Regions from separate parts of the Homo sapiens genome. Here all the other regions are linked to region 4. Evidence: promoter capture Hi-C in 16 types of primary human blood cells and fetal thymus (Javierre and others, 2016). All regions are on one chromosome and are shown on one strand. Each heading gives the region's core, a stretch centred on a gene start or on the middle of the fragment in contact. The rest is flanking DNA. Distances are from core to core; before and after follow the strand shown.

Region 1 (4,001 bases), core at 999-3,498, 430 kb after region 4:
AAGCACAATAAACATTTGTGGCATGAACAGTTGCCTCTTCCTGAATCACACATCCTAACCCCCTTATCCTTCCAGATCAACTAAATGCCCCCTCCTCCAGGAGGTCTTCCTGTGCTCCCTCTGAGACCAGTAGCACCCCCTCCGCCTGAGTGCCCAAGCCCTCTTTGTCACCATCACTTTCTATCACATGCTATTGACTTTAGGGAGCATGCCTCAGCTCCTCTCTGGGCCTGTGAGTTCCTGGAGGGAGGGAGCCACATCTGATTCTTCTGTGTCTCTCACACACATGCACAGGGACAACCCAGAAGACTATCTGGTTCAGCAGCAGAATTGTTGACCAGGAAGCAAGACTCCTGGTGTGGCCTCTGGCTGGCCATGTGACATCCAGCAACAGCCTCACTTTCCCCACCTGGCCTCTTAGGGCCCATCCAGATCCAGCATTCTCTGATACGCCACCTGATGCTGCAGCTCAGGGGCTGCTGAGCTCTACTCTGCATGCCTCTCTCCGTGGGCCATGGGCTTGGGTTCCTGGGAATTTGTTTTCCATTCGGAGATCAAAGGAACAGAAATGCTGGACACCAGGTTCCCAGGCAAAACAAAACAAACATATCAGAGTGGAGAAACTTTTATTAACTTAACAGCTGGCATCAGGCCTCAGAGGAACTGTAACATAATTTGGACAAAAATATTGTGAGGAGTCTTAGGGAGGAAGGTAAGAACTCATGAGTCTGGAGCCAAAGCTTTGGGGCAAGGGAGGATGCTGCCTGTGAGGGGGAAGACTTTGCAGCTTGATGAAGAATACTTCATATTTATTGATACGTTGCTTTGCACTAAGGAAGATGTGTACTTTGTGCTTTAATGTATTGCAGCAATCAAGGTGCTGGATTACAAAAAAAGAACAGAAAGGAAAAAGAGAGAGGGAGAAAAGGAAAATAAAAGAACAGAAAATAACAAAAAAGAAAGGCAAAGGAACCATCTGTGGCTAGCTGAAGCAGTGGAGGAAATCTATTAGAAGGTATATGAGTTAGATATAATATAAGGCACATGGCTATGCAAAGAAGAGAGAGCCCAGAAATAACAGTGGCTTAAATTAGACAGAGATTTCTTTCTTTCTCAGTAAGTAGCCAAAATGTTATGGTAGTTGTCTTAGTTGGTTCAGGATACCATAACAAAATAGCTCAGATTGGGTGAGCTGTGAAATTTATTACTCACAGTTGTAGAGGCTGGGAAGTCCAAGATCAAGATGCTGGCAGATTCAGTGTCTGGTGAGGGCTTCATAGATGGAGCCTTGTTGAAGCATTCTCACATGGCAGAAGGGCAAAAGGGGGTGAAGGGGTGAACAGAACCCCTTGAGCCCTTTCTAGGAGCATGAATCCCATTTGTAAGGGTAGAGCCCTCATGGCCAATTGCCTCCTAAAGGCCCCATCTCTTAATACTATTGCATTGGGGATTAAGTTTCAACATGAATTTTGGAGGGGTATAACCATTGAAATCATAGCAGTGGTTCTGCTTCAAGAAGTTTTCAGGCCCTGGTTTGTGGATCCCCTAACCCTAGGTATTGCCCTCAGGATGTGGTCCAGGAAGCCTTACTCCATATCCACATTCTAGCCAGGAGGGAAGGGAGAAAGCAAGGGGGAAGGAATGCTCCTTCCTTGGAAGGCACCACCTGGAAGGTGCCCACCTCTCTTCTGCTCACACCTGCTGTCCACAGCACAGTCAATGGCCACACTTGGAACAAGGGAACCTGGAAAAGCCATTGTAATCTAAGCAGTCATTGGCCCAGCTAAATAATCTATTACTACATAAGCAGGAAGATGGCTCTTGGGAGGATCCACAAGTCTCTGCCACCGATGAGATTGGGCAGCCTAGATAATTGTTGGCAAGAGTGAGGAATCAGGCTTAGAAAACTGGTAGGAGTCAAACTAGCCACAGGGCAGGACCCCAGCCCCATCATACTAATGGACAGGCTGGCTGGGGTATGTCACCACTGCTGCCACTGGGAAGGATTTCCCGTCTGTTCCTGCATCTTTGCACAAGATCCAGAAGGGCAGCGTTCTGCAGGTGGAGTCAACGTCACAGGCCCAGGTACCAACTGCCAGGGGGTGGAGAGGAAAGACTTCAGGACCCCTCACTGACTTCCGTGGAAGGAAAGGGTACGGGACCCACCCACACTAGAGGCAACTGAGAATTGCTCCCCAAATGTGATGGGAGTTGGATATCTGATGATGTGTACCACCCCTTGAAAGCCAAAAGCAAATGTTCATGACACATGCCATTTCATCCTCACAGCCATCTAGTGAGGTGAATCTCTTCATAAGCCCCAGCGTTCAAGAGAAATTGAGGAGCATAACTGGAGTCACATTTGTCACTCACTTACGTAGCGCTTCCTATGAGCTAGGCATGGTTGTAAGCAGATTACAAATATTAACTTTTAAAATTTGTCTTAGCTTCAGAACAACCAATTAGGACATCTTAGTATCCCCATTTTATAGAAGCACCAAATGGCAAGGGGATTTGCTCAGGATCACAAAATTACTAAGCAGGAGCAAAACTGGGATTTGAACCCAGACACTCTGGCTCCAAGTCTGTGCCTATAACCACTATTCTACACTGCTAGCAAATGTAAGAAATACCCAGGGAAAGATATATGGCTGTGCATTCTGAGATGAGGCCCAGCCCCAGGCTTTCCAAACAATTTTTCGTAAAAGATGTTAATTTCACGAATGCTTTATGTGAATTCTTGTTGTTGCTGCTATTCCGGAAACCAAGCAGATTTCATGTCAGGGTCAGTGAGGCACAGTTCAGAGATAGCTGCTACAGGAAACTGGGGACCAGGAGGAAGAAAGACTCTGAGAAGTGAGTATTTCCCCTTACCTCCCCGCCATCCCCTGCAGGAAGTTAGGAAAAATATAGAAGAAGGCTTTGAACTTCACTAGGTCTTAGAACAAAGGGCATGATGACAATCATTTAGGCTTTAGAAGTAGGGTGGCCAACAGCCGCCATCTCGGTCACCCAAACTCTAAAGCCAGCAAGCAAGGGGCTCAGCCTCCCATGCCCTGTAGACCCTTCATATACACACAGAAGATCCTGGAGCTTCAGTCAGGGCTACTACCTGGGAACTGAACTTACAAATTTAAATTTTACGTACTTACCCAGTCCTGACTCCAGTCCAACACAGTGCTCTGAGCAGGCTGCAGCCCCAGAAGGCTGACAAAGAGCAAAGGGGTCTGCAAAATCCACCAAGGAGCTATCCATCTCCAGAATTTAGCCAGGGCATCCCATGGCTTATCCTAGGGTGCTGGGCCCTAGGGTGAGCAGCTTTGGGGGAGCCCCATGTCAGAGACAGAGCTATGCCTACTGCAGACACTTCCCTTCCTCCTGCCAGGCCATGGCTGGTGTGAGAGCTGGCGCGCTGGGAGTTGTTGGGTCCTCAGAGGCCTGCCGTCTATTCCCTGCATCAAGGAGGCTCAAGGTGTCATTGATTGAGTCACACCACACCTTAATACCACTAATCAGGTCCCCAAGCATGAAGAGACCCCACTCCTTATCCCCTCAAAATTCACAGGCCAAGGGGCAACAACTACTGTAACACATGTAAGTATATATTGCTAATTATTATTATTGTTGTTGTTGTTATTCTAGCCATTATCTTTTAGTATTTGCAGTGCCAGATTAGGCTGTTGACATTTGCTATCTTTGGCCCTGCCACGACATGTGAGGCAGGGATCCCATCTCCATCCTGCAGATGAAGAAATGGAAGCTTGGAAAGACGAACGGACGATCATGAAGCTTGCAAAAGGCAGAACCAGGATGCAAGCCCCTTCCCCATGCTGGATGAAGATCACATCACCACCAAGAACAGAGAATGGCTCGCCCTTCTAGGAGCAAAACAGACAGTTTTGAGGCAGCCTGAAGAAAAATGTCATCAGAGGGAGGGTTGACGGACTGATCAGCAAGACTGTCTCCTTGAGGGCCCCTTACCTTGGTCTCCAGGAGACATA
Region 2 (3,847 bases), core at 188-2,687, 470 kb before region 4:
TTAAATTTAGGAGAATTAGGGTCCCTAATTTCATAATGCAAATCTAAATTCTCACAGTCTAGATGGAGAGACCATAAAGCTACTTTCCCTGGTAGCCTTGGTCTGTCTTGTCTGTAGGCAAATACAGTTGAGTAGTATGTGGAATTTAGACTGTGTAGTATAGTCACTCATCTTATTGTGATACCAGTTTTAATTGGTTTGGTGACTTTTCTAAGAGTAGCTCACCTAAGCATTCTTTAAATTTAGGAGAATTAGGGTCCTTAATTTCATAATGCAATCAGTTAAATAAATATGGATTAAGGACTTGCTTTGTTCCTAGTATTGTACTGGCATGTTGAGGGAGATTTTAAAAAGGGTGGGCACAGATCCTGTCTTTAAGAAAGGCCCTCAGGTTGCTGGAAAGAGAACTTTCAGTAATACATAAATTATAAGGCCAGGAGTGCTGTGTACTCAGTTATGCTAAGGAGAGCCAGGAATGACCTCAAGATCAGAGTGGATCAGAAGGTGAAAGGAATCTTCACAACTGGGTAGCCTCAGATAGAGAGGGTGAACATCAGGGCACTGACTTCCACCAGGAGGTTCTGTGGAGAGACTAGTAGGTAAGAGGAGCATCTGGTGGCACAGGCACGGGAGGCAGGGGAGAGCTTTGAATACCAGCAACAGAGAACTTGGTTGAGAACTGAAGGGAAGGACGGTAACTAACAAGCGGAAGGTAATGAAAAGATTTGTGAGGCAAGGAGAAAGCAGTGAACATAATTGAAGAGATTTAGGAAAGAAATCAAAGAGCTGGAAGGGACCTTAGAAATTATTCAACCCTTTCCTTGTATTTTACAAGTGACAAGTAAGCCCTAGAGTTGCAGTAATCTTGAGAATGAATTGTTAGGCCTAGTCTGCAGCTGGAACCTAGGTCTCCTGACTCCCAGTCTGATGATTTGTTTTTTTTTCATGGTGTACTGCAGTATTTTCCAAACCGAAGGTAATGATTCATTAGCAGATCATGAAGTCAATTCAGTGGGTCACGACTGGCATTTTTTTTTTAATGAAATATAATAGGAAACTATTAGAGAGCTTTATACAGAGTAAGGGTAAATATTTCCTGTAGCTTTTGTTCCAGTAGTGAGTTGTTGCATAAAATGTATTTGTGTATTTCTTACTGTGGGTCCCAGTCCAGAAAGTTTGAGGAAAGTTGGTACTGGAAAGCCCAGTGGGCCTGTGAGTTGGAGAGACTTGAATTTGAGTCCTGCTCTGCCGGGTGTGTACCAGTTTTGTAGCTTCTGTTTTCTTACCTATAACGTGGAGCTAATAATAGTATGGAGTAGTTGTATTGATTAAATGAGATGATTGACTCAAAGCATGTAGATTCTGGCCCCCCACTCTATGCTGGCCGTCATTTGGGACAACTCCTCCTGGGGCAGCATTTAAGTATTAGAAGGAGCCTCCAAGGAATGCAGAGTGGTCTTAAAGAACCACAGTAAGTTACAACTACTGATGTATTATGCATTTGCTTCTGGGCTTGGAAACTCGAAAGAGAATTTATTCCTGTGGGTTCTGGTGTACATTTTACATCTTGGCATGGAAGAGGCTTACTTCTCTCTCTCTCCTTTTTTTTTTTTTGCGTGTGTGTGTGAGGATCAGAATGACTTGTAGGGAGATAAAAATCAGTGACTCTTTAGCTGACCTTTTTTTTTTTTTAATTCATTGGCACATTTGGATAAAGTATTATTGCTTTCTTTCCCCTTTCCAATGGAAAAAAAAATGGTACTGAGCCTTTTCCCCCTTCTAATCTTTTCTTTGCCTGATCATAATTTTATCCATTTTTTTAATTAAAAAAACTTGTAGAGGAAAGTTAGAATCAGAATAGATGTTTGAGTGGTAAACAGCTGAGGAGCTACAGTCTAGTAAGTATAAGCTAAAAATAAAGGACATTTTTATGTGAATTTAGGAGGACTGGTCACATACCTTTTAGAAATAGCTGTTCACATCCTGCAGAAAGGAGAATGAGTTCTGATATCTGATTTTCATGGTGCCCTCTGCCTCTTCACTTTTCCTCTTCTCCCCATTTTGCTGCCTCTGCCTCCCTTCCCCCATTTCTTTCTAGCCAGCTCCATCCCCTATTGGAAATCCCGCTGGAAAGGGGAGACGAGCTTCATCTCCCACATGATTTGGGCCAGGGGCTAAAGCACTCCCATAAATCTGCAGCTCATTTTAATGCCACGTTAAAACAGTGTGAGCGGCTGGTTTCCGTGGCCCCTGCCCTTTTCTTTATGGGCTTCTTTGGCTCTTCTTTATAAAGAGGCCCTGTGGAGTCATTTTAAAGTCCTTATCAGTTTGCTGACAGCTATATGGGCCTTTCTGCTGAGTCCAGGAGCTCAGGCAGGCGTGTGAAACTTCTGATATTAAAATTGAAGAAAAATGCCAGGCAGAAGGGATTGGGTGGTGGGGCAGTGGTGCAGAGGTGAAAGACTAGCAAGATAATTAACCTTTGCAGGTCCGGAACCTCGCCGTTGGCCACTGGTAGGGGCAGGGCAGGAAGGGTTAGGCAAAAGAGGGTTTTCCAAGGGCTTTTATTTTTATCCCAAGATTAGAAATGCCATTCCACTGGCAGTTTGTGCTTTCACGCTTCAGCAAGTGAGTTGGGCAACTTGAAGGGTTAGGGTGGCCAGGTTTGCAATGAATTTTTTCCTAAAGGCAGTCTGACTGGCTGGACCTCTGCTTGCGTGTCTTTGCCAGCTCCAGCCTGCTGTCTCTGCCTCCGCAGCATCACTGTTATCGAATTTAAAGGGACTTTCATCAGTCTGCTTTGCTGACCCTTTTAGAACAGACTGTTAACCCTCAATAATCCTCCCAGAGAGTTTCATGGAAACACCAGGCCCTCCATAAATGTCAGCCTGCGATGCTTGGCCCTTTTTACCCTCTCTGTTATAGAGAAGTAGACTAGAGGCTGCTCCTGCCTCTATCCTACCACTTTTCTTTCTTTCTTTGCTGGAAAACTGCAGCAGACAGCTGAGGGGAAGGAAAAACCATTACCTGGATCAAGGCCAGTGGTTTGATGGGAGCTTCAAAATCTTTGGCATCTCCTGCCCAGAATGTTTTTCCAGGCATTTTAAAAAGAGCATCCTTACTCTCCTTCTCCTTTAAACCTTCCAACTTTGACTTCCAAAGGGGGATGGATGGGTAGAATAAGCCCTTAGAATGTACTTTATATCTTCCTGCTCTTCTTCTAACTAAAGCTTTTAGGAAGAGGTTAGTAGTGATAAGCAAAATCCAATGGGCATATATATTTCTAACTACTCTGTATACAGCTTTTTGGCACAAACATGTTATTTTTCCTTTTTCAAGTGGACATGAGCAGTTTTGCAAGTGTGTTCCATTTAAAATAGTCATTTAACTTGAGGTTGAGGCAAAAGCAAGAATTTTTATAGTAAGTTAGTCAAACATATATAGCTGTTGATCTTGGATTGTCATTGAACAAATAATAAAATATACTGATTCATTTTATTACTCGTGTAGCTGTTGTGGGGAAGAGTACAGTCATCCCTCAGTATCTGTGGGGGATTGGTTCCAGGACCTCCTGCAGATACCAGAACTCAAGGATGCTCAAGTCTCTGCTACAAAATGGCATAGTATTTGCATATGACCTATGTATATCCTCCCTTATACTTTAAATTACCCCTAGATTAATTATACTTCCTAATACAATGTAAATGCTGTGCAGATAGTTATTATACTGTATTGTTTAGGGAATAAGTGAAAGGAAGAAAATTTTATGTATGTTCAGTACAGGCACAGTTTTTTTTCCGAATATTTTTGATCTGTGATTGGTTGAATCCATGGATGTGGAACCACA
Region 3 (3,599 bases), core at 924-3,423, 320 kb after region 4:
CCTCTGGAAACTGATGTACAAAGACTTCCTGCCCGGTCCTGTAGCTTCTTCAGGCCCTGGGACCCAGGGCATCTGCTTGGCTCTGTCTGGGGAACAGCTCAGGTGGAAGGGGTGGGGTGAGGTGCAAACTCCCCACCCAGATAAGCCCTCCCTCTGGGCAGAGCTGCAGGTGGAGTGAGGTCCTCAGCGTGCCCTGACCTCGGCTCCACCGAGATGTGCATGTGTATGGACTTCCTTTCTCCACTGGGGATAAGAAGACTGCCCCAAGTTGGTGGTTTAGGAGAATCCCAGGGGACCTGGCACCAGGATGCAGAGCCCCTAGCTCTCATTCCCCCAACTCCCAAGCAGGTGGATGGAGAGACGATGGAGGGTGGGGGCTGCACCCAACTGCCAGGCCTAAGCCCATCTTCTCCCTCTGCCCCCAGCTCACCCGAGAATTCTTCACCAAGGAGCTCACCAAGCACTACCAGGGCAATAACGACACAGACGTCTTCTCTGCCACCTGGAACTCGGTCATGATCACAGTGAGTGACGCCCCAGAGATGCTATGAACATTCAGAGCCACGATGCCCAGTGTTCACATGCCCACGCCAGGCATCAGTAATCAATCCAGGCACTCTCCCATTGATCACAGACCTGGCCTTGGAATCACCATCCACGCAGCATTCCAGGCAGCCATGCCACTTGATCACAGTCCCTACTCGGGATGAAACCTGTTTGCTCTCCCTGTCTTGGGTCCCCAAGCAATGGTCATTATGATGATGATAATAACCACAGCAACTGTTTATGGATGGCTAAGCGCCTGGTGAGGTAGGAATTGTTACTGCCACCTCTGTTATAGAGATGAGGACACTGAAGGCCCAGAGAAGCTGAGTGGCTTTCCCATGGTCACACAGTGGTGACAGGTGGAGCCCGCCCACACCCAGTCTTCTGATGCCACTCCTTTGCAGAGGCTGTATGTCCTTCTCTGTCCCCGCCCCTGTGTCCTCCTCCTGCCCACCAGAACCTTCTCTGGGATCTCCCCCTAGTTTGGTTGCTGCGGGGTCAACGGGCCTGAAGACTTTAAGTTTGCATCTGTGTTTCGACTCCTGACCCTGGATAGTGAAGAGGTGCCGGAGGCCTGCTGCCGGAGGGAACCCCAAAGTCGGGACGGGGTCCTGCTGAGCCGGGAGGAGTGCCTCCTGGGAAGGAGCCTATTCCTAAACAAGCAGGTACTGGCCCTGCTCTCCAGACAGGGGAGTGGGTCTATCGGGATTTGGGTGGCCAGAGCTGGGTGGGAGGCGCTATCACCCCAGAGGGTCTGAAGCTACCCCAGGAATCCCAGGGAAGTGTTGGCCATGATATGGGATGCCTGCACCTGAGCAGGGGCTGATGGAGGCTCTCTGTCCAAGCCCCTGAGATCCAACCAAAATGGGGAAGGATGACAGTGGCAGATGGTCTGCCGCTGGAGTGGGCATTCAGGCTGGGGCTAAGGGGTGAGTAGGAGTTTCCCGATGTTTCCTGAGTTTCTGATAATGCAGGTCCAAAGGGAGGGAGGGGGACAGAACCAGAATTGCACAGTGGGGGGCCCTTCTTAGCCATGCACTGTATTTTGGAGGAAGCTCTTATTTGCCATGTGGGGCACCCTAAGGGAGCAAGGTCTCCTTGACCTGACTCTCCAAGGTCAGAGAAGCTCCTAGACTTCAGGTTCTCTTGCAACCTGAGGACTTCCTCGCAGCCTTGGAAGAAACCCTTTCCCTTCCTGCACGTGCCATTTCTAGGGAAGACAAGCGCCTGGCTTTGTGTGCCTCCTGCCCACACACCCTTATGAGTTCACAATGCCCTTGCTCTTAATCCCCTTCTTCCCACTGACCAGCCCCCACTCTGCCAGTGTGGGTGTGTGACCAGGCTAGGCAGGAGGAGAGGGAGGGAGAGGACGAGGGTGATCTAAGCCTGGGCCCCAGCCCCCTTGCTTGAGTAGGACTTTAACGAGGGTCTCATGGAGAGTTCCAGATGCAAGAGACACAGCAGGGGACAGGAGACAAGGCCCCTGTTCCTGCGAGGCTCACGATCTCATTAGAGGACGCGCAAGATGAACAAGCAGCAAACTAATGAGAAGTAATCATTTCACATGGTCATGATTGCTGCGAAGAAATAAAACCAGATGAGGGGCTAGAATGGGCCTTGGGTGGGGGCTCAAGGCAGAACTTGCAAAGTCCCAGAGGAGGTGACAGTGAGCAGAGGCCTGGGTCCTGGGGCTCTGGCGGGCCCTTTCCAGCCTCAGCTCTGCCCCAGGAACTCAGCCCCTCTGGCCCTGGCACATCCCCATGGATTCCTGAGGCCCTGAGGGCCACGTTCTCTCTGTCCCTCATCACCCTGCCTTCCTGCATTGGGGGAAAGAGGCTCAATAGAGAAATGAGGGCCCTGAGTTGAGGCCACTGTGGACGTGGGGCAGAGAGACCTGCCGTGGGGAGCAGCTGCAGGGCGGGGAGGGGAGTTTCAGGCTTCCATGGCAGGCAGGGGTGGGCTGTTAACTGCTGTGTTGCCTTCGCCAAGACACCCTCGCTGGACCTCAGATTCCATATGTTGGCAGAGGCTGCTGGCTGCCCCCCACGATCCATTCACCCCTACTCTCTTGGGAAGGGAATGGTTATCACACCCCATGACCACCAGCTAGAGGCTGCACTTCCCAGCCTGCCTTGCAGCTAGACCATGTAACCGAGTTCTGGCTAACGGGAGGTGAGCAGAGGTGATTTGTGCAACTTGAGTCACATCCTTAAGAGAAAGTGCTGTGCCCACCCCTCCTTTTTTCTCTGGCTAGGACTTGGCAGAGGGAGGTGGCCCCTAGGATGGCAGAGCATCCAGAGAGAAGGAGCCTGGGCCACGTACAGTTCCATGGCATACAGCGGCCACCATAGCGTGGGGTTTATGTGAAAGACCAGTGAATTTGTAACTTGGTGAAGGAGCTGTTGTTTGAGATGCCCGTTGCCAACAGCCAAACTTAGAACCTTTTAATGCTACTTGTAAGTTTTCAGGAGGCTTCCCATGGGCCGCATTCCCCGCATCAGATGTGCTTCCCATTTCTGGACTCATCCTCCGTTAGGATGTCTCCTTTCCTCTCCTGGGCATGTCTTCAAAATCAGAGCTCATCAGAGAGGTCCCTGCACAGCCACATTCATTCTTTCCAGTGACTCTGTTGTTCCTGAGGGTCTGAGACTGGCTCCTGGGGTTTCTTTGCTGAGACATTCATGTCCCTCCTAGGCATTTCGTCCCGTTAAAAATCTGCTGCTGTGGAACTGTCTCTATTTGTCTTTTCCTCCAAAGCCCTCTTGCTTAAAGCCCAGGATGCATTTTTTTTTTTTTTTTTGAGACTGAGTCTCGCTCTGTCGCTCAGGCTGGAGTGCAATGGCACAATCCTGGCTCACTGCAACCTCCACCTCCAGGGTTCAAGTGTTTCTCCCACCTCAACCTCTCAAGTAGCTGGGACTACAGGCACATGCCACCATACCCAGCTAATTTTTGTATTTTTTGGTAGAGACCGGCATTTCACCATGTTGTCCAGGCTGGTCTCAAACTCCTGACCTCAAATGATCCACCCTCTTGGCCTCCCCAAGTGCTGG
Region 4 (3,694 bases), core at 1,124-3,623:
AGCCACAGAGGGTGGTTGCTGAAATTAGGCAGGATGCTTTGGATAAAGGGCCTTGTTCAGGGCTGGCACACGGCGGCTGTCTGGGCAATGTCAGTTTCTTTTTTCTGGGAGTAATCACTGGGAGGAATTGTTGGAAGCCTCAACCCAGGAAGTTTAGGAAAAGTGGAATTGACAGCCTCTCCCTGCCCACGCTGATGGCTGGGGCTCAGTGCCAGAAGATCCCCGCACTCACCCTGAGGAAGGTGGGGGGCTCCTGTGAGGAACTGGGTGGAGGAAGCCTTGAGAGTAGGGTTGGCCAGGGCTCTTCCTGAGCTCCAGAACATTCTGTCTGTTATCAGGAAGCGGAGCTGAATCCCACAGACTCCCTCCCGTCCTCCAGTTTGATAGTTATTCTGTAAGGGCACTAACGCCCCTTGGGGACCAAGGTGGGGACCTCGGCCTCTCCAGGATCCCCAGGGAGTCGTGGCCAGCCCCAGGCCTGTATTCTCCCTGCTGATGGTAAAGGGGTTGGTCCTGGCTGTGCCTCAGTGCTTAGGGGAGCAGATTAAAAACGCAGGTCCTTGGCCTCCTGCTGGGAGCGTCTTGGTCGGGTTGTAACGGACTCAAGCATCTGCATCCCTAAGAGGCTCCTCTGATCCACACTACTCTCCAGCCTTCTGGAGACGCCAGCACCCTCGCCCTCCAGGTGCGTCCCATGCCCTGGGGGTACAGTGTACCCATGCTGGTGAGTTAGAGATGACATGAGCTTTACCCTGTGTGATGGGTTGGGTGTCTTAGGAAATGTTGGCCAAGTGCCCCTGCAGGACTCCTGACCTCTACCTCCCGGAATGGGCCTGTCCACAGGTAGCTCTAAAGAGGGTCTTAGCCATCAGGCCCATTCCTGTACCTCCTAAGCATCATTTCCTCCCGGGCTTCTTTCTTGCTCTCACTGGTCCGTTCTCTCACCTTCTTTCCAATCTTCAAATAACCAAGCTCCTCCTTCCTCAGGCCTTTGCACCTGCTGTGTTCCCTGCCTGGAATGCTTTTCTTACAGATCTTTGCTTGGCTGACTTCTTCATTCATGTCTTGGCTCAAATGTCACTGGCTCAGGCTGGCCTTCGTCGACCCATTCTGACCCTCTCCCAGCCCAGCAGTTCTCTGCAGTTAGCCAGCTTTGGTATCTTCATGGCGCCCAACACAACCAGAAAACCTGTATTGTGTACTTTTTGTCTCCACTCCCCACCCCCAAATGTCAGACCTTGTTAGTCACTCTTCTGCATCCCCAGCAACTGGCACAGTGCCTGGCATGAAGTGGGCACCCAGTAAACATTTCTTGGCCGAATGAACATGCAGCACACCTGTAGCAATACATGTGCCCCGTGCATCAGTGGAAAGAGTGTGGCACTGGAGATTTGCATATTTTCAAATTCCAGCTCAGGCCCTTGCCTGTTCGCCTTTCTGAGCCTCATTTTTTTCTTCTGTGAAATGGCCATGCTAGTGCCTGCCAGGCAGGGTGATGTCAGAGTTGGAGACGGCGTGTGGAAAGCCCATGAGGCACAGTGAGTGGGCAAGAAAGGCTGGTGTTTGTTATTATATGGACAAGAAGGAAGGCGGGTTAAAAATCAGCTTGGAATCTTAATGTCAGTGGCCCCTGGAGAACCAGCCAGCCTCTTGTCTGTCAATTCCGCAGATATTCACTGTGCACAGCACCTCACTGCGAGAGGCGCTGTTCGAGCTGGGGGTTCCCCAGGAATAAAGTGAAGCTTCTGCCCTCATGCACCTCAGGTCCTTGGTGGAGGGGGAGAGCAGACAATGAGCAAGAAGAATCAGTGAAATGTAGTCTATTCAATCCTGAGAAGCCTTACGAAGTAAAAAATAAAGCCGGGAAGGGGCTTAGGCTGGATGAGGGTGTGGATTGCAATTTTACTGGGGGAGGGACACAAGTGGGGATGGGGGTGACCTGGTTCCCTGTTGGGCAGTGAGAAGCCAGCAGGGGAATGCAGCTGACCCCAACACCCTGGCTCCAAAGAGGGGATCCGGAAGAAGACCTGGACGGTTAGGCCAGGTGTTTATACCTGCTGTGCCCACTGATTTTGTACTTCTTCTTCCCCCTAGAAACCTCCTCCAGCTCGCTTAGGATGGGGGCCTATGTCTTCATCGGCGTGGGGGCAGTCACTATGCTCATGGGCTTCCTGGGCTGCATCGGCGCCGTCAACGAGGTCCGCTGCCTGCTGGGGCTGGTGAGTACGGATCCCTCCGCAGCTGCCTGCCCATTTCCTCTCATCCAGCCGAGTGCAGCCTGACCGCGGCGCTGGCCGTAACATCGGGTGGAGAGCATCTCTCGGGGCACGCAGGCTGGGTGCACCTGGTCGGGGACCCTCAGCTGACTTTGTGCCTGCTCTGTGTCCCCAGTACTTTGCTTTCCTGCTCCTGATCCTCATTGCCCAGGTGACGGCCGGGGCCCTCTTCTACTTCAACATGGGCAAGGTAAGCCCCTCTCTCCCTCCCTCTTCACTGGGCTGGACCAACCATGGGGGTGATTGACTGAGTGTGGGGGATGGACAAGGAACCCCCCCAGTTGTCACAGACAGATCCAGTAGGTGTCAGGGACGGCCTCCTGGACACTATTCCTTGTGATCAAATGGGGGAGCGTTAGAAGAGAAGGCGGCAGGTGTGGGCAGTCCCCGCTGGGCCTGGATCTTAGCCTGACCCCCCTGCTTTCTAGCTGTGTGGCCTTGGGCAAGCTGCTTGCCTCTATGTGCCTGTTCCACCATCTGTAAAATGGAAACAATAAGAAAACTGAACTCTCAGAGTGGTTGCAAAGATTATTCGAGATTATCTGAGTGAAACACATAGCGCATGGCACCATAAGTACTCAATAAATGTTATTCTTGTTATTATTAAGATACTTTAGCAACTATTAAATCCATGCCACTCACCCACAAATGAGGTTTAGAAGGAGACCGTTAATAAAAACATCAGTCTTGTGTCCGAGGGGAGATGTTCAGCTTTCAGAAACAGAAAATCAGACTTACAGCGGCTTAAAGTTGAAGGACATCTGTGGTTGACTTGACCGGAAGTCTGGTTTGGAAGCTCAGAGGCCCTGGTTCTGGCTGTTGAGCATCCTCGCTGGGATGGCTTTCCTGCATTATGACACTTACCTCGTGGTTCCAAGATGGCTGCCACAGCACCAGGCACGATGTCTGTGCCGCTGTGGCCTGAAGATGGGGAAGTGGGCAGTGCCAGACATGGCCATCCCTTTTATCAGAAAAGGCGCAGTGGCTCATGACTGTAATCCCAATACTTAGGGAGGCAGAGGTGGGAGGATTGCTCTGAGACTAGCCTGGGCAACATGGTGAGACCCCATTTCTACAAACAAATTTTTAAAAATGCTAGCCATGGTGGTGTTCACCTGTGGTCCCAGCTACTCAGGAGGCTGAGGCAGGAGGATCCTTGAGGCCAGGAGGTTGAGGCTACAGGGAGCCATGAAACAGAGCTTGGGGCAACAGAGTGAGACCCTGTCTCAAAAAAAAAAAAAAAAAAAAGTCCTCCAACAGACTTCCCCAGACTGGGTTACAAAGCCACCCCTGGTTGCAAAAGAGGCTGAGAATGTGAGTATCCAACTTTCAGACTCTAAAGACAGAGGCACAAGAGAGAAAGGAGCCAAGAATGGCTGTTGGGTGAGCCAGTTAATTGTGAGTCACAGTTATCACGT
Region 5 (4,031 bases), core at 76-2,575, 340 kb after region 4:
CAAGTTACTTTTCCTCTCTGAGCTCCGGGGTCCTCATCTGTGAAACGAAAACAGCCAACCTCACTTTTCCCCTACAGCTGGTCTCAGGAGAAACAAAATAATGGACAGACAGTGCTTTAGAAAGAGCCAGCTCACTGCTCAAGCCAGAAGGCCTAATGGGTAAGTGCTTAACTGCTGAGGACGCTCCCTGGATTTGAATCCCAGATCCATCACTGCCTGGCTGTGTGCCCGTGGGCAGGTCAGTCACTTAACCTCTACGTGCCTCAGTCTTCCCAGGTGTAGTTGGGAAAATAAGGTGTCCTATCTTATAGAGATACTGTGAGAATAAAAGCTGTAATCTCCATGAAGCCATGGGGAAGTGCCTGGCCCACAGCAAGTCCCCAGTGAAGACAGGCAATTATCAGACACAGACACTGCCACCCTCCCCAGGCCTCCCATGTGGCAGTGGCACCAGGATGGAGGCCATGGAGGAGTAGGAAATGGATCTAACTAACACTTCTTAACTTCTCCGCCCCACTGGGCAAAGCCCCAGATCTCAGTCCCCGGGCACAAGGCTGGCGCTCAGCCACTGCCCACCAGGCCCAGGCTGTGTCCACGGCCCACCTCCGAGGGGCAGAAGCTTCCAGGCATTGGATGCATTGCTTTCCTCTGCCTGCTGACCCCTCTCCACCAACACATGCACACACACGCACACTGCACACACAGTACACACACACACACACCACATATACACACCATACTCACGCCACACACACACCACACACCACACACATACACACCACACACACCACACACATACCACACACACACCATACAAACTACACACACCACACAATACGTGCACACACACGCCACACAAACCCACCACACATACATCACACACACCCACCATACACAATGCACACACAAAACACACACACACCACACATACCCACCACGCACACACACCCACCACACACCTACCACACACCACACACACCCACACACTACACACACCCACCACACACATCACACACACCACATACCACACACCACACCCACACCACACATTACACACCATAGACACCACACACACACACCCCCACAACACACCACACACAACCATACACACACACCACACAAACCACAAACACCACACACACACCACACACACACACCATACACACACACACACACACACACACACACACACATACACACACAGAGCATTCCCCTCTGCATCCCAGGACGGAGTCAACAACAGCTGCTGCAAATCAACGGCTGTGGGACGTGTCAGTGCCCACCTGCTGGGGCTGGGAAGAGTGGGCACTACAGTGTCCTGGACAGAATTACTCATGGGTGGGACAATCTTCATCCACGGGCACTGCCATCAGACATCTGAGCTGGTGGGAACCACTGTGCCCACCTCCCAAGCCCACCCTAGCAGGGAGGGCATCACTCACAAAGGGCCCATGTGGCCCCACAGAGAAAATGGAATCTTGACCTCCAGGGAGGAGGGCCCCACACCCACCTTCCAGCACAGATAACTGCTCTGAGAACGGCGCTCCACCCCTACTTCACCCCCAGGACTGGGCCCTGCAATGATCAGATCCACCCAGCAGCCCCTCACCTGCCCCACTGGCGAGGCAAGCTGCACACACCCCTGAGGTCTCCCCTTGACCTTTCCTCCCCTTCAGGGCCACTCCAGGTGTTTATTTCAGGCCTAAGTGAGGACAGAAGACTCCACCGTGCACTATGGCCAAACCCCGGCTTTGGGGGCAGGGGACCTGGGTTTGAGTCTTGGCTCTGCCCTCTTGCCAGCTGCATGGCTTTGTGCAAGTCACTACACCTCTCCTAGCCTCAGTTTCCCCTCTTGTGAAATGGGGGTAGTGAGAACGCTCACCTCGCAGACGTGCTGGTGGAGAGAGAAAGAAGGAGTGCACGTGGGCACCCATGGGGAAAGTGCCCTGCCCAGGGAGGAGTCTGGCCCTCCTTCCACTTCCCTTTCTCCACTCAGCCGTGCACAGTGGAAAAAGCCTGCCATCAGTGCTGTGAAGCTTCCTGCTCTGCCCCACTGCCTTCTGAAGGGCCCCCGGGGGTTTCCCCCAGGAGCCAGGCTGCAGGAGGCTGGGGGCAGGGGCAGCAAGGACAGCCACTCCTCCACCCACATCACCTGTCTGGCAAGAAGGGAGGACATGGCTCCTAGGGCCCAGGCCTGGGATCCTGAACCTTTCCCTTCTGCCCTGCCAGCTGCTCTCGCCCACATTCCCGATCAGCCAGCAAACCTTTCAACAGTGGTTCTCATTGCTGACCCTTTACACAAGTGAGAAGGTCCCTGGGACACTCTGTCCCCCCACCATGCTCCTTGTTCCTCCAGGCTATCTTGCACACAGCCCCTCTTCCCAGGGCCCTCCCAGGGCACTGGGTCCTCATCCTCCTCTGGACTCTCACGGGTCTCAGTGTCTGCAGCCACTGGCCACTTATAGCCTCTACTCCTGGTCATTTCACGGCAGTTTGACTCCCCAAGACCAACCAGTCTGAAGGTATGGCTTGTACTGTGCTCCTCCGTGTATCTCCCCGTGAGGCTGGGGTGCACAGCAGGCACTTTGTCAACACAGGTGGAATGAGCAGCTGTCAGGCTAAGCCCAACCAGCACACTCAGAAGCCCACAGGTTAGACGTGGCGGGCTGAGGGGAGGCTGTGCCCCAGGCCACATGGAAGCTGGTGGCATAGGGCAGGAAAGGGCTTTCCAATTAGGCAGAACTGGGTTCAAAAGTGGCCACTCTCTGTTGGTCAGGTGGCCTTAAGCGAGCAGTCTCAGCCCTCAATACAATGGGGATCACACCACAGCGCCTTACTTGCCTTACTCATGGGGTGCTGAAGACTCCAGGAGATGGGGTGCAAATGCTCTTGGCAGAGGACCTGGCAGTGGGGGGTCTGGACAGCCGTGAAGGTTAGAGGACTGGATGAGAACACTGGCCTCTGACATTGCCCCACCTCCTCAGAAAGCTGTGGCATCACTCGCAGGGGAGTGCCCCAGGGCAAGGATTTCTTTGGGTCTTGTTCTCTGAGCCTGGGACAACTCCGGGCACAGGAGGAGTTCAACAGGCATTTGTGATTGAATGAATGAGTCGGGAGGAGCTAAGAGGCCCTCTTCAGCCAAGATCTGACTCCCTGCAGTCCCTCCCACCTCCCCATCTGCTGTGGAATCTGAGGCCAGGGAAGAGCACCTCCACATGCTTCCCAGGGGCGAGGCGGGAACAAGCAAAGTCCCCAAGACTAAACCAGCCAGGAAGAGAGGGGCTTTTTGGGGATACAAGAGTCAGAAGAGGATGACAGACAGGGAGGTGGTAAGCATATTTGTAACGATTGGGAAAACTTGGGCTCAAATCCCTGCTCCTCTTTATTGCTCTGTGACCTCAGGAAAGTTACTTAACCTCTCTGAGCCTCTATGTCCTCATCTGTGAAACCAGACTACTACTTCTGTACAAAGCCCACAGGTTTGTGATGTGTGATGATAAGAAAGTGCAGCTGAGGAGCCTGGCCTCTGGTGTGTACTCTGTAAAGGACAGCAATTAATAACATGAATAAGGTGGCTGCCCAGGCTCTGCCCTGGCCAGATCAGATGGGACTGAGGCGTCATTCCCATGCAGATCCTGGAGGACTTCCCCAACCCCCTGTCTCTTTCCCAGGAAGCCTGGTTTCTATAGAAACAGATGGACTGCCGAGCTGTCCCCAGCATGAAGACTATGCCCGTGAGGGCTGGCTTAGGAAACCTGACTGGCTGGGGGAGTGGGGAAGATGAGGGAGGGAAGAGGAAGGGGCCCAGAACATCCATCAGTGGCCAAGCCTCCCTGTGAGTCAAGGGGGAGTCACTGCTGCTGCACACCTCAGCCAAGGAGCCACTGCCTTTCCAAACAAGAGCTTCTGTGATAGGGGCAGGCAGCACACCTGTTCCTCCACCCCTCATAAGGAAGACTGCCCCCAGGGCCACCTACCCCGGGGCTGGGAGGAGCGGGGCAAGTACTTCAAGACCATGAATCCCCTGCTAT
Region 6 (3,709 bases), core at 226-2,725, 290 kb before region 4:
CGACCGCGCGATCCCACATCTGGTTTCCATCGCCGGCTTACCTTGAAGTGCTCGTTAATAAAGATATTCCGCAAACCAAGCCAGGAGCGCGCAGGCTCCAGCCGCCCCCCACTCCATGCCCAATGGGAACCGCGCCTCACTGGCCCGCAGACCTAAGCCACTTGAGAGTCCTTTATTTATTGAGCTCCTGTTGTGCCAACAATCTGGCAATACAAGGCTTATCATACCCATTTTGCATATGGGTAGACTGAGACTCAACCAAAATAATTTTCCAGTTAGCAAAAAGCGGAGTGCTCCTGCCATCATCCTAAATGCTCCTGTCCAGCGGTTTCTTCAAGTTCCTAGAACCTGCCAAGGTCTCTAGCCTGTGCACTGTAGCATAGGTGGTTTCCCCTACCTGGAATTCCCTAAACTCATTCCTGCACTTTTGTCTGGCTAATGATTCAGAGTTCAGCCTAGAGCATCTTCCTCTAGGAAGACTTCCCGTCTCTCCTAGTTTAAGTTGACGCTTCCGTTTGCCTCATCTCCGTCCCAGATCTCGTGGTTGTCTGGTTGCCTGGCTATGAGTGTATCTCAACCCCACTAGTTGCCCCAGGGCAGCCTCCTACGTGCCTGGCACCCCACAAATATTTGTGGAATAAAAGATTAAACCTGGACCAGGCGCGGTGGCTCACACCTGTAATCCCAGCACTTTAGGAGGCCAAGGAGGATGGATCACAAGGTCAGGAGATCGACACCATCCTGGCTAACACGGTGAAACCCTGTCTCTACTAAAAATACAAAAATTAGCCAGACGTGATGGCAGACGCATGTAGTCCCAGCTACTTGGGAGGCTGAGGCAGGAGAATGGCGTGAACCAGGGAGGCAGAGCTTGCAGTGAGCCGAGTTTGTGCCACTGCACTCCAGCATGGGCGACAGGGCGACAGGGTGAGACTCCGTCTCAAAAAAAAAAATAAATAAATAAAAATAAAATAAAATAAAGATTAAACCTGGGGCTGTAGGACTCTATCACCTCAGTGTATTCCAACTGCTCAGTGCAGCACCAAGTTCTGAGACTCTTTCTTTGGTTTCCCTTAGTCAAGGACAGCTGGTCACCCACCCACCCCCTCTTCAAAAATCAAGTAGCGGAATTAACAGCGTGCTGGACCTTCCTGAGCCTGTGCCTTGAGAGCAGTGAGTTTTCTCACAGCAGGGGCCAGGTCTGTCTTGTTCGCTGTAGGGCTTGGCACTCATAAAATGCTTGTTGAGTGAATGAATGAAAGTGTCCTATGGTTCCCAGGGGCTTAGAGATGCATTTTTTTGTCAAGGAGTTCCAAGCCAGCCGCCTACTCCAGTCTCCTGTGCCCAGCAGCTGCCTGTAGGCACCCAGAAGGTGGTGGCAATACCCCCGCTTCTTTCTCCACCTCCATTCCTGTCTAAAAAATGAGGGAAGGACTATGAGAGGCAAATTGTGGTGGAGAGGGTTGGGGTGGGGATGACAACCCCGAGACAGGAACAATTGCAATTGTACACTCTTCCTAGAACCTCTGAACCAGGCGCACCCAATGCAAAAATTTGCTGTGTTTCATGAAGCATTTTTTGAGCATCACCTCGCCTCTTACCACCTAAACACTCTGAGCTTGTATTACCTGTTTAATTACTGCCTCGCTATTCAACCTTTCCCTGACCACCTGGATATTCAAACCCAAGGATTTCATGCCCTAAGCCAGAATCTTTCCTGTCTTGCCTGAGACCCTGTGTCCTTGGAACGAGCGCCTTTAGTCCTCCGCATTTTATCTTATAGATGCATCCAGGAAGAATGAGCGAGTGCCAACAAGTGAGAAAGTGCCTTGGGGACAACGTTCCGGGCAAGTCCTTTGAATGTGTGACCTGAAGCCCTCATGCAAACCTCCACCGACTCCCTCTCCTAGGTCCCTTCCAAAACATTCCAGGGACTGTGGTAATAAGAGCAGCTGGTTATTTCTGTTTGTGTTCAATCATTTGTTCCTCTATTGGTCCTTCCGTAGTTGAAAGTGGAACCACTCCCATCTGGTTCTTAAGCAAGGATGTAGGGCATCCTTCCAGCTTTCTGGCCACAGGGAGAGTGCTGGAGCCTGAGTCTGGGCCTGACTGCTGCTCTCCAGGTGCGTTATTTCTCCCGCAGCTGAGGCTCTCCCTGGCTTGCTGCCTGATTCCTGTCAGGTTCCTTCACACGCCAGGCAGTTTCTGCATGCCCAGTTACTTCACTGTGTACTGGGAGACCCAGGGGACTACACCCACCTCAGCAAGTCATGAAGTCATGTGCACCACTTGGCTGGAAGTTGCCAGCTCTGCAAATGGTGGAAGGCTATGATAACTGCTTCTAGTCCTGCACTCCCACCCCTGGCAAATGCTCCGCTGGCTGCCCCCTTCTCCCTCCCTTTTGCTTCTCCCAGTCAGCCCTCCAGGAGGCAGCTTCCACATTCTGTGGCCTCAGGCTCCAGGCTCCACACTTGGGAAGGGTGTGGGAACATGGTGAAGAAAAGCCTTTCTTCCTCAACCCTAGTGCTGGGTGTCACCTCCTCGCTGAGGCCTTCCTTCGCCACCCTAGCTACCCCGTCACATCGTCTTTTTCCTCCATAGCGTCTACCGTGATCTGATATTATCTCCCACATTTGTTAATGTACTTGGTTTATTGTCTGTGTTCTTCCTAGAATGCAAGTCCCTGGCCACTGTCTCCCCAGTACTGAGTGCAGTACTTGGCACACAGTGCTGCTCAGAAAATATATTGAATAGATGATTGAATGAATAGCCCAGAGGACTGCCCCTGGCTGGGGGGGTAGCTGCCCAGTCCTGGTGGCTCCGGTAGAGCCCAAGGGTGGGGGATTGAGTTGGTTAGAGGGTGCCCAGTGGGGAGAGAGCACAGCAGACTCTTTCTTTTTCTTTCTTTTCTTTCTTTCTTTTTTCGTTCTTTTTCCTTCCTTCCTTCCCTCTCTCTCCTTCCTTCCTTCTCTCTCTTTTCCTTCCTTCCTTCCTTCTTTCCTTCCTTCCCTCCCTCTGTCCTTTTTTCCTTCCTTCCTTCCTTCCTTGTCTCTCCTTCTCCCCTTCCTTCCTTCTCTCTCTCTTCCTTCCTTTCCTTCCTTCTTTCCTTCCTTACCTCCCTCCCTCCTTTTTTTCCCTTCCTTCCTTCCTCCCTCCCTCTCTCTCTCTCTTTTTTTCTTTCTTTCTTTCCCTTGAGATGGAGTCTTACTCTGTCGCCCAGGTTGGAGTGCAGTGGCACGATCTTGGCACACTGCAACCTCCATCTCCCAGGTTCAAGTGATTCTCCTGTCTCAGACTCCCGAGTAGCTAGGACTACAGGTGTGTGCCACCATGCCCGGCTAATTTTTTGTATTTTTAGTAGAGATGGGGTTTCACCGTGTTAGCCAGGATGGTCTCAATCTCCTGACCTCGTGATCCACCCACCTTGGCCTCTCAAAGTGCTGGGATTACAAGTGTGAGTCACTGCACCCAGCAGAGCCACCACCTTCAGTCTGAGCTGCCCTCTACTCCCCAATTATCTACTGCACTGCCACCCTGGCTGAGCACTGTGGACGTGTGATGAGGGGCACCCCGGCTCCACAGCCTGGCACCTACCTTCTATGTAACCTTGCCTGACTGACCCAAGCCTTGACTTCCATGTGAGTCAAATGGGGACTACGCCCACATCAGCAAGCCCTGTGCAGCACTTGGCTGGAAGTTGCCAGCTCTG
Region 7 (3,624 bases), core at 1,112-3,611, 500 kb after region 4:
GCCCAGGCTGGCCATGTCTGTAGAGGTAGGAGGTCCCAAGCTCCTGCGCTTCCAGGGGCTCAGCAGTTTACACCCCGTTGGCAGCCCCAGCTTAAGGTGCAGGCTCCCTCGCAAGCCACACAGCCGTTCTCGTTGGAGGCCCTGCCACCTCTTGGGGTGCAGGGATTGGTTTCCTGTCACCCATGGGTCCCACCACCCTCAGGGCCCTTTATAGGCTGGGGTGATTTTTGCTTTCTTTGCTGGTTCTCTCACGAGCTAGATGTTCTAGTTATACTGCTATGCTACAAACCACCCCAAAATTGAGCACATAAGACAGCCATTTTATTATAGCCATGGATTCTGTGGGTCAGAAATTTGGAAAGGGCATCATGGAGACAGTTTACCTCTGCCCATAATGCCTGAGGCGCCGGCTGGAAGATTAAGGCTGGGGTGACTTGACGGTGGTGGCAGGAACCCTCTGGTGGGCATCCTCACGTGCAGGTCTGAGGCCGACACGGGCTGCCACCTGGGACACTGACCCATCTGCTCCACTCCACGTGGTCTGTGAGTTCTTTTTAGCACAGCAACTGGGTTCTAAGAGTGGATGTCGCAGGAGAGCAAGGCAGAAATGCGTGGCATTTTCTAGATCTAGCCTGGGAAGTTACAGAGCATCTTCTGCCATACTCTACTGGTCAAGGCAGTCACAAAAGTCTATGAATCAGAGATGTGGGGTGGAGTTGGGCTCAGATTGAGCACTGAGTGAAAAAGCTTCACTGCAAACAGGGATACCCCCAGAACAAAGTCCAGGCTTTGTGGGGAGGAGAAATGAAGCAGATCTGCTAAAGCCAAAAGATGGAGAACTGCTTCTGTCTGTGAGTGGGGTGGGTTGGCCAGCAATACCTGGGCTTCACAGGTCAGTATGGGGCTGGCTGAAGGCACCCACCTGGTGTTTAGGGGGCCCAGGGGCCTCCATAGAGCAAGATAAGTGCCACGTTAGCACACCAGGGTCACCAGGCAGCCAGGACAGGTGACTATCTCAGGGTCTGATGGAAGCTCAAAGTCCAGATGCTCTGCTCAGCCCACTCCCGGGCTCCACACTGGTCTCCACCATCTGTGTGACCTGGGCTGATGACATCTTCGAACTCCACTTTCTCACCTGCAAAACGGGGCTAATTATAGTTCAATGAGTCATAGCCCATTTCAGGGGCAAGTTCTAAATCAGTAAGGCAAAAATTAGGTACACACAAAACGACCCTTGAGAACCTCTTATGCTCCCCACCAGCATGGATACACATGGTTTTGTGTATACAGTTGTGAAGAGTAAGTCTAATGAATGTCAAATGTGGACAACTGATGAAGCAGAACAGAGGGTGGATGGGGTGCAGTGGGAAAGCCAAGAGGGAGGTCTGGACTTCTGTGCCATCTGCCTTTAAGGAAATGCCCATCTCTAGTTGAGTGGGGGACAGGGCAGGGGTAGGGGTGGGGTTCCTCTAAGCCTGTCAGGTTTGCTGACTGGCTTTTCCGTGTTGCTTTCACACCAATCCTCTGTAGTGTTAAATGAACTGATAGATTTGCGTGGCATTGTACAAATTAAACTAGTTAATATACATAAAGGCTCCAGCACAGTTCCTGGCATATAATAAGTGCTCAATAAATGTGGGTTGGATTTTTTTTTTTTTTTGTGAGACAGAGTCTCGCTCTGTCACCCAGGCTGGAGTGCAGTGGTGAGAGCTCAACTCATCGCAACCTCCAACTCCAGGGTACAAGTGATTCTCATGTCTCAGCCTCCCAAGTAGCTGGGACTACAGGTCTACACCACCATGCCTGGCTAACTTATTTTGTGTGTGTATTTTGTATTTTTAGTAGAGACAGGGTCTCACCATGTTGACTAGGCTGGTCTCAAACTCCTGGCCTTGGCCTCCCAAAGTGCTGGGATTACAAGCGTGAGCCACTGCACCCCGCCCTGGATTCATCTTAATCTCGCTTGATCAGACCCATGCACGTGGCTCATTTTCAGCCAGTGCTGCCATCCTGGTTGTTAAAATATCAGCATGTGTCCACTCCAGTTGGTAAATAGCTGCTGTCTAATTCCCCATGAGTGTGACCCGCTGCCCTGCTGCCCTGGCCTCTTACGTGGGATCCCCGTGTCTCCCCATGATGCAGCAGCTTGAGGGGTGGCCTTGGTCCAATTGGGCCCCTGGGACCTGCTCAAGTACCAGGCCAGGTCTGTTCTGACTGTTGGTCCCATGAGCTTCTGGGGTTAAATATTTCAAAGATCACTCCTGCCCATGTGCCCACTGCTCTGTGAAAAGCTGGAAGCAGCAGCCAGGCACTGCCTCCTGCACTCTCGGCTGGCATTTCCTGCTGGGGCCCACGGATCCCTTGCTCAGCCTGGGCTCTGGCTCCTGCCCTTGGACAGGATTCCAGAGGCAGGTGTGTCCTCATGGTGGGGCCTCACTCCCGAGTGAGGACGAGCTGCCTCCTTTCAGGGAATGTGGTGCCCAGAGGCACCAGGGGCCTCTCAGTGGCAGCTGTCTTTGAAGTCCTTGGACCCATTTCTCCCCAGCCCTGCCTGTAGCTATGTGGGGACCCAGGCCCAGTGCCACTCAGACTTTCTCAGCCTGCCCCTGAAATACCCACTAATGCCAACCAAGAATTAACACATGCACCCGCAGGCCAGGCAGCCTGCCTGAAGCAGCTGACACAAGTGTGAAATTTCTTTGAAGTCTTGGGTTTTGTCTCAAAAAATACACGCAGATTCTGCATTCTGCTCCATAATGTTTCCATTTTTGTTTAAATCTAAAAATAGGGCTTTAAATGACTTCCAGTGAAGAAAGTTGCCTCTCCAGGAAGATGTCGGGGCTTAGCCTGTGAGACTGTCAACACCCCTGGCCACAGGCCTCTGGGCACTCAAGGCTGGAAACCGAAAAATGTTGTCCCCGCCCCTCAGGAAAGGTTGAGTCTGACTTTTCACCTCTGACCTGTGCTTAGGCACCCTCTTTGGGTCACCTCCTATTTCTGTCCCTCTGAAACTGCAGTTGGCCCTGACCCAGAGTGGTGAGGAGTGGCGGTCTCTTGCTACTACAGGTAGGATGCAGGCTTGGCAATGCCAGTGGCCATGGTTCTACCCACCCCTGCCTTGAAAGGAAAATAGCACAGCTCAAGAAAAGGGACACCCAGAGACAGCAGTGCCCTGACAACATCACTCACTCTCCTTGACCCAGCATCACCTTGGATGTCGCAGGGCTATGTGACCAGAAATTCCTCATGTTGCCCCTAAACATGGTGAGGCCCTGTCTCTACCATGCACAGATGAAAAGAGTCCTAATTAATCAACTCTCCCTAGAAAGGAGACCACTCGGAGGAGCCCTACTCATTCTCAAAATATTCAGAGGCTATCCTGCGGAGGAGGGAGAGTATCTGTTCTCTGTGGCTCCACTGGGCCACAACCAAGACTGAGGTGTGGGAGATGGAACAGGGCAGATTTAGGATGGTGGGAGGAAGTGCTTTCTGAGTCAGATCTTTCCAGGGAAAGCAGGGCCTGCTTATCAGGTAGTGAGCTCCTGTCCCTAGGGGTATGTAAGTGTAAGCTGATAACCTTCTGGTAGCAAAAAGGTAGAAAGATTGAAGCACTAGATGGGGAAG

Evidence for each region. Contacts are between HindIII fragments. The CHiCAGO score rates a contact against its expected background, and 5 or more counts as called.
Region 1: a fragment that was not itself captured here is called in contact with the fragment with the promoter of CD82-AS1 in region 4 in 1 of 17 cell types (total B cells); the score reaches 5.8 in total B cells.
Region 2: a contact is called between a fragment that was not itself captured here and the fragment with the promoter of CD82-AS1 in region 4, in 1 of 17 cell types (endothelial precursors). The highest score is 5.5, in endothelial precursors.
Region 3: a contact is called between a fragment that was not itself captured here and the fragment with the promoter of CD82-AS1 in region 4, in 8 of 17 cell types (naive CD4 T cells, megakaryocytes, total CD4 T cells and 5 more). The highest score is 12.1, in naive CD4 T cells.
Region 5: a fragment that was not itself captured here is called in contact with the fragment with the promoter of CD82-AS1 in region 4 in 1 of 17 cell types (total B cells); the score reaches 6.8 in total B cells.
Region 6: a contact is called between a fragment that was not itself captured here and the fragment with the promoter of CD82-AS1 in region 4, in 1 of 17 cell types (total B cells). The highest score is 5.2, in total B cells.
Region 7: a contact is called between a fragment that was not itself captured here and the fragment with the promoter of CD82-AS1 in region 4, in 8 of 17 cell types (naive CD4 T cells, neutrophils, total CD8 T cells and 5 more). The highest score is 8.6, in naive CD4 T cells.

What each region holds. Positions count from the first base shown.
Region 1 is chr11:45,032,838-45,036,838 of GRCh38, forward strand. The region is part of intron 1 of LOC105376650 (a long non-coding RNA gene); the gene reads left to right. Among named protein-coding and RNA genes, the nearest start is that of LINC02685, 61 kb to the left of the region's middle. The HindIII fragment of the contact is 3,020 bases long and covers 739-3,758 here.
Region 2 is chr11:44,137,520-44,141,366 of GRCh38, forward strand. All of the region lies in intron 7 of EXT2 (exostosin glycosyltransferase 2), which reads left to right. Among named protein-coding and RNA genes, the nearest start is that of EXT2, 44 kb to the left of the region's middle. The HindIII fragment of the contact is 3,581 bases long and covers 1-3,228 here.
Region 3 is chr11:44,918,789-44,922,387 of GRCh38, forward strand. It overlaps TSPAN18 (tetraspanin 18), which reads left to right. Exons shown (of 10, transcript NM_130783.5): 7 at 426-524; 8 at 1,029-1,211. Among named protein-coding and RNA genes, the nearest start is that of TP53I11, 30 kb to the right of the region's middle. The HindIII fragment of the contact is 5,797 bases long and covers 1-3,599 here.
Region 4 is chr11:44,602,964-44,606,657 of GRCh38, forward strand. CD82-AS1 (CD82 antisense RNA 1) reads right to left here and starts at 2,374. Exons shown (of 2, transcript NR_182290.1): 1 at 2,055-2,374; 2 at 1,545-1,767. It overlaps CD82 (CD82 molecule), which reads left to right. Exons shown (of 10, transcript NM_002231.4): 5 at 2,095-2,219; 6 at 2,392-2,466. The HindIII fragment of the contact is 7,514 bases long and covers 1,741-3,694 here.
Region 5 is chr11:44,941,270-44,945,300 of GRCh38, forward strand. The region is part of intron 1 of TP53I11 (tumor protein p53 inducible protein 11); the gene reads right to left. Among named protein-coding and RNA genes, the nearest start is that of TP53I11, 7.6 kb to the right of the region's middle. RefSeq lists enhancers at 2,045-2,693, 3,903-4,031. The HindIII fragment of the contact is 1,417 bases long and covers 618-2,034 here.
Region 6 is chr11:44,311,919-44,315,627 of GRCh38, forward strand. No RefSeq gene overlaps it. Among named protein-coding and RNA genes, the nearest start is that of ALX4, 3.6 kb to the left of the region's middle. The HindIII fragment of the contact is 4,661 bases long and covers 1-3,709 here.
Region 7 is chr11:45,106,186-45,109,809 of GRCh38, forward strand. LOC105376652 (a long non-coding RNA gene) reads right to left here. Exons shown (of 6, transcript XR_931241.3): 5 at 923-1,135; 6 at 300-573. It also overlaps a transcript of PRDM11 not described here. Among named protein-coding and RNA genes, the nearest start is that of PRDM11, 39 kb to the right of the region's middle. The HindIII fragment of the contact is 3,233 bases long and covers 746-3,624 here.